Regions from separate parts of the Homo sapiens genome. Here region 1 is linked to region 2. The links are contacts of gene promoters, found by promoter capture Hi-C in blood cells and fetal thymus (Javierre and others, 2016). All regions are on one chromosome and are shown on one strand. Each heading gives the region's core, a stretch centred on a gene start or on the middle of the fragment in contact. The rest is flanking DNA. Distances are from core to core; before and after follow the strand shown. Region 1 overlaps SEPTIN6 (septin 6). Region 2 holds the start of SASH3 (SAM and SH3 domain containing 3).

Region 1 (4,263 bases), core at 1,639-4,138, about 10 Mb before region 2:
GCCAGCTCCCTTACAGAATTTCCACTGGGTCTCACATAGCTCAGTTTCCCCCCAAGATATGGCCCTATACTCTGATCTGGCCAGGGGAAAAAAGTAATTACAGCCAGCTGTTTACAAAAAACAGGCAGAGAGATAAAAGAAGAGGGGAGAGACACTCTCGCAACTAAATCAGAATGACACACTATTTAACCTAATTACCTGCAAAGCCGTATCCAGCCATTAAGGATCCATATTCTGTAATAGAATTTCCTGCTATGGAAATACTCACCCACGCACAGGATGTTGAAGCAGAAGCCCTGGCTGACGGACTTATTCACCAGCTGGTCAGGCAAGCTGTCAAACCCCACATGTCCAGCCAGGGGGACAGTTCGGCAACCTTCACCCTAATTTGGAAGGAGTGAGGGAGAAAATGAAAATGTGCTTAAAAGCAGTCTGGGTCTCGCTTCTCCATCCAAATGTTCGCTGTGCAAGGAAGTCACACCCGCCCAGGCCCAGTGTGTCATCTCTTCCCTCAGCTACTCCCTGCTCCAAAGCAAAATGGCCCGTCAGCTTGGAAATCACAGATTCTTGGGGACAGGCATCCTCTAGGCTCAATAGTGAATGTCGCCACAGCTCCAGAGAAAATTACAGAGGAGCTTATTAGGGGCAGGAGAGTGGAGTCAGGGGAGGAGAATGCTGGCACCGAGATTCACAGACTCAGGTTAAATCTCCACTCAGTCATTTACAAGCTGAGTAACTTGCTGAGACTGTTTCCTTCCACATCTGCCATCTGAGATAATATGGCATATCTTAGAGGTGACTGGGAGCCTCAGAAACGCTAATACATGTAACGAGCTTAGTATATGCAGAAGTATTCAGTAAGTATTACGAAAAGGGTTTAAAAAGCAATTATTGGGCCGGGTTCAGTGGCTCACACCTGTAATCCCAGCACTTTGGGAGGCCAAGGCGGGGGGGATCACTTGAGGTCAGGAGTTCAACACCAGCCTGGCCAACGTGGCGAAACCCTGTCTCTACCAAAAAAAACAAAAATTAGCCAGGCATGGTGGTGGGTGCCTATAATCCCAGCTACTTGGGAGACTGAGGCAGGAGAATTGCTTGAACCCGGGAGGTGTAGGCTGCAGTGAGCCGAGATCACGCCACTGCACTACAGCCTGGGCAATAAGAGCGAAACTCTGTCTCAAAAAAAAAAAAAAATCAATTATTGGCTGGCGAAATGTCTCACACCTGTAATCCCAACACTTTGGGAGGCCAAGGTGGGTGGATCACTTGAGGCCAAGAGTTTGAGACCAGCCTGGGCAACACAGTGAGACAACATCTCTACAAAAAATCAAAAATTAGCTGGGCATGGTGGCATGTGCCTGTGTAGTCCCAGCTACTTGGGAGGCTGAGGCGGGAGGATTGCTTGTGTCCAGGAGGTAGAGGCTGCAGTGCGCTATGATGGCACCACTGCACTCCCGCCCAGGTGAGAGAGCAAGATCCTGTCTTAAAAAAAAAGCAATTGTTCCTCTCTCTCTAGAGCATTTTGAGGACCTACAAAGGCAGTGTAGTGTAGAGGTTAAGAGTAGAGGCTTTGAAATCTGGCAGGTGTTAGTTACAGCCCCATCTCCACCATCTCCTGGCTGTGTCACCCTCAGACAAGTTACATAAACTTCTTAAGTTTTCCCCATCCATAAAATCGGAAACTATTGAGTAGGAGTGTGAGGATTATACAGGATCATGCTCCTCAAGCCCTTAGCGTAGTGCCTAGCATGTGGTGAGCATTCAATCAGCAGTAGCTGCTGTTGTTATTCACTGTGGGGTTATCCTTACACCCCCAGCCTGAAGGGTACTGCATGGAACACTGTGGCTCCCTATGGCTACAAGAAGCTGCCTCCGTGCTTCCTCTGGGTCCCTTGACTCCCTAAGGGTCAGCCAAGCCACTCCCAGCCCTGGAAAGCAGAGGGCCTTTGCTTCGCCTGCAAGGCCCAAAGCTGCTTATAGTTAATGATTTTACAAAACAGGAGGAGACTCAAACTGGAACAGGATTCCAAGGAGCCAGGGGGAAGCATAAAAGGGGCCTGCGTGGAGCGTGGACTCAAGAAATGTGCCAAATACCAACCAACGGCCACAGGGGAGGGGAGGGGACAGGGGAGAAGGGAGCTTGAGACAGCTGAGCTAGACAAGAAGGGAGTACTATGTAAGGAGTCAGTTTCTGTTGGGTGGGGCTGCACCAAGCTTTCCATAACTAGAAAGATGCCAAGAGCAGTCCAAGAAGGGCACGGTTAGTGCCAGGAGGCCCAGCCCAGCATCACAGGCTGCACTAAGCAGGCAGCTCTTCTGTTGGGCTGGACCACCTTTTAGACTAGGTCCATAATAAGGGCACATTTTCACACTGAAAGGGGTGGGGTGTGAGGGTGGTGGAGCCTCTCAGCAGCCAACTTTGTCAGAACCGGCTCCCAGATAGCCCCTTCACACAGCTTTAGATCTCACTCCCATCGGTGTCACTAGATCCTGTGAGGGCAAGCGACAGGGCTAGTGCCGGTGAATGCCATGTGGCAAGTTCATTACCCTCACACATCTCACCCCACACCCTCCCAGTGGAGAACTCTTAACAGACAACCATATGCCATCATTCAGTGAGAGTTGGTGTATTCTCTGCCCCAGGGGGTCCCCTGAAGACACCTGAGGCTGGGTGCAGTGGCTCGCACCTGCAATCGCAGCACTTGGGGAGGCCGAAGTGGGCGGATCTCTTGAGCCCAGGAGTTTGAGACCAGACTGAGCAACAATGGCAAAACCCCATCTCAACAACAAGAAAAATACAAAAATGAGCCGGGCATGGTGTCGTGAGCCTGTGGTCTCAGCTACTCAGCAGGCTGAGGTGGGAGGATCACCTGAGCCCAGGAGGTCGAGGCTGCAGTGAGCCATGATCTCGCCATTGCACTCCAGCCTGGGTAACAGAGCAAGACACTGTCTCGGCCGGGCGCGGTGGCTCATGCCTGTAATCTCAGCACTTTGGGAGGCCGAGGTGGGCGGATCACGAGGTCAGGAGATGGAGACCATCCTGGCTAACACGGTGAAACCCCGTCTCTACTAAAAATACAAAAAATTAGCCGGGCGTGGTGGCGGGCGCCTGTAGTCCCAGCTACTCAGGAGGCTGAGGCAGGAGAATGGCGTGAACCTGGGAGGCTGAGCTTGCAGTGAGCCGAGATCGCGCCACTGCACCCAGCCTGGGCGACAGAGCGAGACTCCGTCTCAAAAAAAAAAAAATAAATAAAGACAGCTGAGCCTCATGAGTGGTTCACATCACTCAAGGCTTTGTTCTACGTTCACCCCTTTCTGCTTCTCCTTCTCATTTCCCCTTCTCTTTATTAAAGCAAACAAAGTAAGATGCAAGATTCCCACTGCTAGTTCTTGGTCCGCAACGCTGCAGGGGAGTCAGGGACATGAGAACTGATATGCTTTCTTTACGGAGCCTCCGATGTAGCAGGCATCGGAAATTGAGGTGGACTCAGAGTTGAGGTTTCCTGAGCCATTTGTTATCACCCCTGGCTGCCTCTTCCGGCCTCCAACAAATTCAGCACCATGAAGCTTCAAGTGCTCCAAAGTCAAAAGGAGAGGAAATGAATTTTCAAACTGAAGACAGTGCTGTAAAGAGCCCTAAACGGCAGAAGAAAAAATTTTCTTTTCTTTCCTTTTTTTTTGATAAGGAGTCTCTCCCTGTCTCCCAGGCTAGAGTGCAGTGGCGCGATCTCAGCTCACTGCAACTTCCGCCTCCCAGGTTCAAGCGATTCTCCTGCCTCAGCCTCCCGAGTAGCTGGGTGCCCACCACCGCACCCGGCTAATTTTTTGTATATTTTAGTAGAGATGGGGTTTTGCCATGTTGGCCAGGCTGGTCTTGAACTACTGACCTCAGGTGATCCACCCACCTTGGCCTCCCAAAGTGCTGGGATTACAGGCATGAGCCACCATGCCTGGCCCAAAAGAAATAATTTTTTAAGCCCTAAGAAGCAGAAGTATGGACTTCATTTCCTAAGCAATGGGATTTGGGGGATTTTGAGTGATTTGAGCAGGGAGGGCCATGATACAGGGAGTGTTTTTAAAAGATCACTCCAGCTGCAGGGTGTTTGCTTGATTGGATGGACAGAGAGACTAGGAGCAGGAAGACATAGGAGGAGATGACTCCAATAATGTTGAGCCAGCAGAGTGACATCCAGGCACTGTGACAATAAATGCTGGTTGGTGTGAACTGACCTGACTTGGGACTCAAAGAGAAGGAACAAATTT
Region 2 (4,257 bases), core at 182-2,681:
TCTCGAAAAAAAAACAAAAAAGATACTGTGTTTAGTGTGAAAAGCAGACACCAATAGTGTGAATTATGACCTTTTTTAATTAAAAAATTTTAAACAGCTTTATTGAGGTATAATGGAGCTACAATAAACTGCACATATTTGAAGTATACAATTTGATACGTTTTGACATGTGTATTCCCCCATGAAATCATCACCACAGTCAAGATAGTGAACATATTCATCACTCCTAAAAGCTTCCTGTTACCCTGTGTGATGTCTCCCTTCCCTTCTCTCCCCTCCCCTTCTCCCCAAACCAATTATCTGTTTTCTGAGCAGTATGATTTTTGTAAAAAGAAAAAAAATGTTTATAGACAGAGAGTAGATAGATGCTTAAAACAGTGTAGAGGACAATGATGGGAAATTTTGAAATTTTTTTTGTTTATGTGTTTGTGAAATTGTATGACAAATACAAGTTGCTTTTGTAATACCAAGAAGTTATTAAAGTTATTAAAATCTGCCACAGACAACCCACAAATTGAATATACTGCATAGGTGTTTGATAAATGCCTGTTGGATACTTGCTAGAGGTGTGGAGTTGGCTGTAAGTGCTTTTCAGCTGTGGTGGTGATAAATATACTCATGATGGCTGAGGGGTACTGACTGGAGGGGTGACTGCTCTAGTGATGATGGCTTTAGGTGTACTGATGGCTGTAGGAGTGATGGCTGCAGGGCTGATGGCTGCACGGATGTGATGATGGTTGTAGGAGAGATGACTGTAGGGACGATGGTTATAGGGGTGAGAGGGTCATGAGTGCGGTTGGCTGTAATGTCCAGAAGGGTGACAGCTGTAAGGATGATGGCTGGAAGGGTGATAGCAGCAATGGTGATGACTGTAGAGGTGATGGCTGAAGGATGTCAACTGTAGAGGTGATTACCATAGTGACAATGGCTATAGGTGTGCTGATGGCAGCGGGGATGGCTGCAGGCCTGATGGCTGTAGGGGTGATGGCTGTATGGTGATGGCTATTGATAGGAGTGATGGTAGCAGTGGTGATGGTCACAGGGGTGATGGTAGTGGTAGTGATGGCAGTGACGACCTTGAAGACGTGAGTTGACCGGGAGCATTGATCCAACAGGCAGCCAGATGGTCCAACTTCTGGTTTCTGGATTCTGGTCAGTGAGATAAAGGGCTTGGGTACGCCATATAATGTCGAGCTGATTGTCCACCTCTAGGAAGATGGAGCAGAAGGACTGATGATGATCGACATGAGACAACAAGGTAGGGACTTTCTCTGACTGTTCAACCCAAGAGCCGTCTGCATCAGAATCTCTGGAGACTGAAGCTTGGACTTCCTTCCTCCCTAGGGGCCGGCAGGGGCTGCGATTGCTGTAAGAGTAGGTCACGTGGCAGGGCTTCCTGTATGCTGCTGCTGCCGGGTGTCCATGGCCCGCACCCCCAAGCTGCCACTGCAGCAGTCAGAGTGGCAGCTGAAGGCTCGGTTCATGCCGTGCCCCCGGGCAGTTCTGGTGAGGCTAAGCAAGAGGCCTCTGCATCTTGACACCTAGGAGAGCAGGGACGGAGTCTCCCAGGGTGGAGGACCATGCTGCGCCGCAAGCCCTCCAATGCCAGTGAGAAGGAGCCCACTCAGAAGAAAAAGGTGAGGAGCATTTTGGGAACTCACATCTTCCTTTCCTCTGCTTGCTCGACCCATCCCTTCCAAGACTCTTGGAAGTGGGAAGAGCCAAAGGCCATATGTTGAGTCTGTAGGTGAGGGCCACTCACCTAGAAGGCAACGGGACAGGGACCCAAAGGTTAACAGAAGTACAGAAGAGATGTTTAAAATTCTGGAGCAACAGAGTTACAGAATAGATCCTTAGAAATCTAGAGTCATGCAATTCAACCCTAGAAGAATGGGAAAAAAGATCTAAAATTAGGGGCCAGAATCTTAGACTAGAATTTGAGAATAACAAAATACAATGCTTAAGCTGAACCCTAAGCTTGTACTTAACTATCTCTCCTCTACGCTGGTCCTGCTGCCACTTCTGCCCCGGCCACGGCCTCTCAGGAGCCATCTCACTCAAAGGGCCCTGCTGGGCTGCCCAGCTTGGAGCCATGATGCTCACAGGACTGCCACCCCCTCCTCCACTTTGGCCATGGCCCAGACCCTGCCCACTTGGCTCAGCTCTGTGGTAGCTCCCAGGCCCTACCCGAGATGGAGCCAACCTGGAGATGGGGGCCTGAGGCCATTCCAGTCTTGGGGGAAAAGGCATCCGGAAGTGCAGTGGGATGCAGGGGGCATACAGGTTCTTCCTGGGTGGGGAATGAGAAATTAAGTTGAGGTGGTGAGTAGGAGTGAAGGCTGAGGAGGGAGGATTTTAAAGGCCAGGAGGAAAAACAGCTGTCATGGATGGCTGAGGTGTTCATCCCCCTGGGGCAGAGACCGGACTGGAAGAATCCTTGAAGGCTGTGCCAGATCTAGGATTTTGTGGTTGAATTTGAGGATTTCCAGATTTCTTTGGTTGGGTTTGAGGATTTCTAGACCTAATTCTTTAATTCAATTGAAGGATTCTCCCAGACAATCAGCAAGTATATCCTACACATCCAATGGGATGCTAGGACAGTCCCAAAGCAGGCCTGAACTAGGTCCAAGAGGCCCAGGCTATCCCCCGCCAATTTTCCCTGGAACTCAGCCCAGGTGCCCTATGGTGGATCCCCCTTGTCAGGGGAGTAGCTCAGAGATGGAGGCCAAGGCAGCTGAAAGACTGAGACTCGGGGCAGTGGGGTGTGCATCCTGCCCCAGCTCTCAGGTCCTGGGGTGGCTGCCACTTCCGGCTGTATTCTCCCCACCCCAGCTGCTTCTCTAAGGTTGCAGTGGTGGTGGGCGGGGGAGGGGGGAGGTTCATGAATCTTCACACGGGCTCTGTCATCCCCGTCCAAACCCTGCAGGGTGCTAGGCCCAGCAGGACTGCCATTGGCTGCCACTCCTAAGAGAGCAGGGCCACTTCCCCTTGCTCTCTGGCTGGTGGGGGTGGGAAACAGAGATTGCTCTATAGACACTGCTAGGCCTCAAACCACAGGGGCGCTGAGCTGGAGGAAAGTGTGAGAAAGAGCTGACACTTTGACACTGGGACCCTGTGCCACATCAGGAAGACGTACCTAGGGGCACACAGAAGCCAGAAGTCCCCTTTTTCTTTCCCAGCTTCAATTACCCAGATTCTGTGTTCGGCAGGCAAGTGGGCCCCTGGGATTTCCCCAGGTCTCTCCCAGGAGAAGGGGTCCTTTCGGGGAGAGTAGTCCAGGCAAACCCCACCCCAACCCCTGCCAGAGCCGGTGCCAGCCTCCAGAGCTGGGATGAGCTTGCCTCCACACACTCTGCTAGCCCCAGACTATGGAAATGTCCCCCAGAAGCCAAGCTTCCAGAAGGTACAGAGCATCTTCCCCAGGCCCAGAGGCAGCGGGCTGGCTGAATCACTGCTAGTCCCTTCTTCTCAGAGGCTGAGATGACGTGGTGGAGAGGAAAGCACAAAGGCAAGAGAGGCCTCTTTCTCCTGCCCCTGCTTCTCCTCTTGGGCCTGCCAATGGAGAATGTGCCAGACAGGGGGCAAGAAAGCTGAGCTGGAATCCTACCACGCTCTAGCTGTAGGACCTTGGACAGCTCATTGACTTTCTTTGGGCCTCAGTTTCCTCGCCTCTGAAAAGGAGGATAACTCCTAATCTGCCCCCCTCAAGAGGTTGTACAGATCACCCAAAAGAATAGATGTGAGAGTACCCTGTCACAAGTGTGCACGTGCATACCACACAAGGGGGTGCCTGCTGTAGGCATGGGTGGGGATAGGGAGACACTGCAAAGAAGAATGAGCCATGCCCCCAGTGCTGGCACAGAGAACACAAGACTTAATAGTACTAAGAGCCACCACAGAGTGAGAGCTCATGGGATGCCAGGCACGGTGCTGTGCATCTCTTACCTTGTTCACTCCCCACGACAACCTGGTGAGGTAGGGGCAGATATTGTCATTATCCCTATTTGACACTTGAGGCTCACAGAGGTGAAGCAACTTGCTGAAGGTCACACAGCTGGGAAGCTGCCGAGCAGGGATCCAAGCCAAGATTTGTCTGACTCCAGAATCTTGACCCCTTCTCTCTCCACTCTCTTGTCCCCTTGTTGATCTCAAAGGCGCTAGAAGAGTCTGATGAGCATAAAAGATTCAACCCATCAGCAGGAGAGCTCCGTGGGGCAGACCCAGATAGCTGTGGAATGAGTGACCTTCCAGCCAGCA

Evidence for each region. The method cuts DNA at HindIII sites, captures the fragments that hold promoters and counts their contacts. A CHiCAGO score of 5 or more calls a contact.
Region 1: a fragment that was not itself captured here is called in contact with the fragment with the promoter of SASH3 in region 2 in 2 of 17 cell types (non-activated CD4 T cells and activated CD4 T cells); the score reaches 10.1 in non-activated CD4 T cells.

The regions. Positions count from the first base shown.
Region 1 is chrX:119,675,286-119,679,548 of GRCh38, forward strand. SEPTIN6 (septin 6) reads right to left here. Exons shown (of 11, transcript NM_145799.4): 2 at 269-383. Among named protein-coding and RNA genes, the nearest start is that of SEPTIN6, 16 kb to the right of the region's middle. RefSeq lists an enhancer at 2,378-2,878 and a silencer at 2,817-2,936. The HindIII fragment of the contact is 1,353 bases long and covers 2,213-3,565 here.
Region 2 is chrX:129,778,518-129,782,774 of GRCh38, forward strand. SASH3 (SAM and SH3 domain containing 3) reads left to right here and starts at 1,432. Exons shown (of 8, transcript NM_018990.4): 1 at 1,432-1,637. The coding sequence starts at 1,581. LOC124905215 (a long non-coding RNA gene) reads right to left here and starts at 4,017. Exons shown (of 2, transcript XR_007068328.1): 1 at 3,946-4,017; 2 at 58-1,762. RefSeq lists enhancers at 1,183-1,342, 1,593-1,672, 1,723-1,782, 3,050-3,229, 3,340-3,389. The HindIII fragment of the contact is 655 bases long and covers 1,321-1,975 here.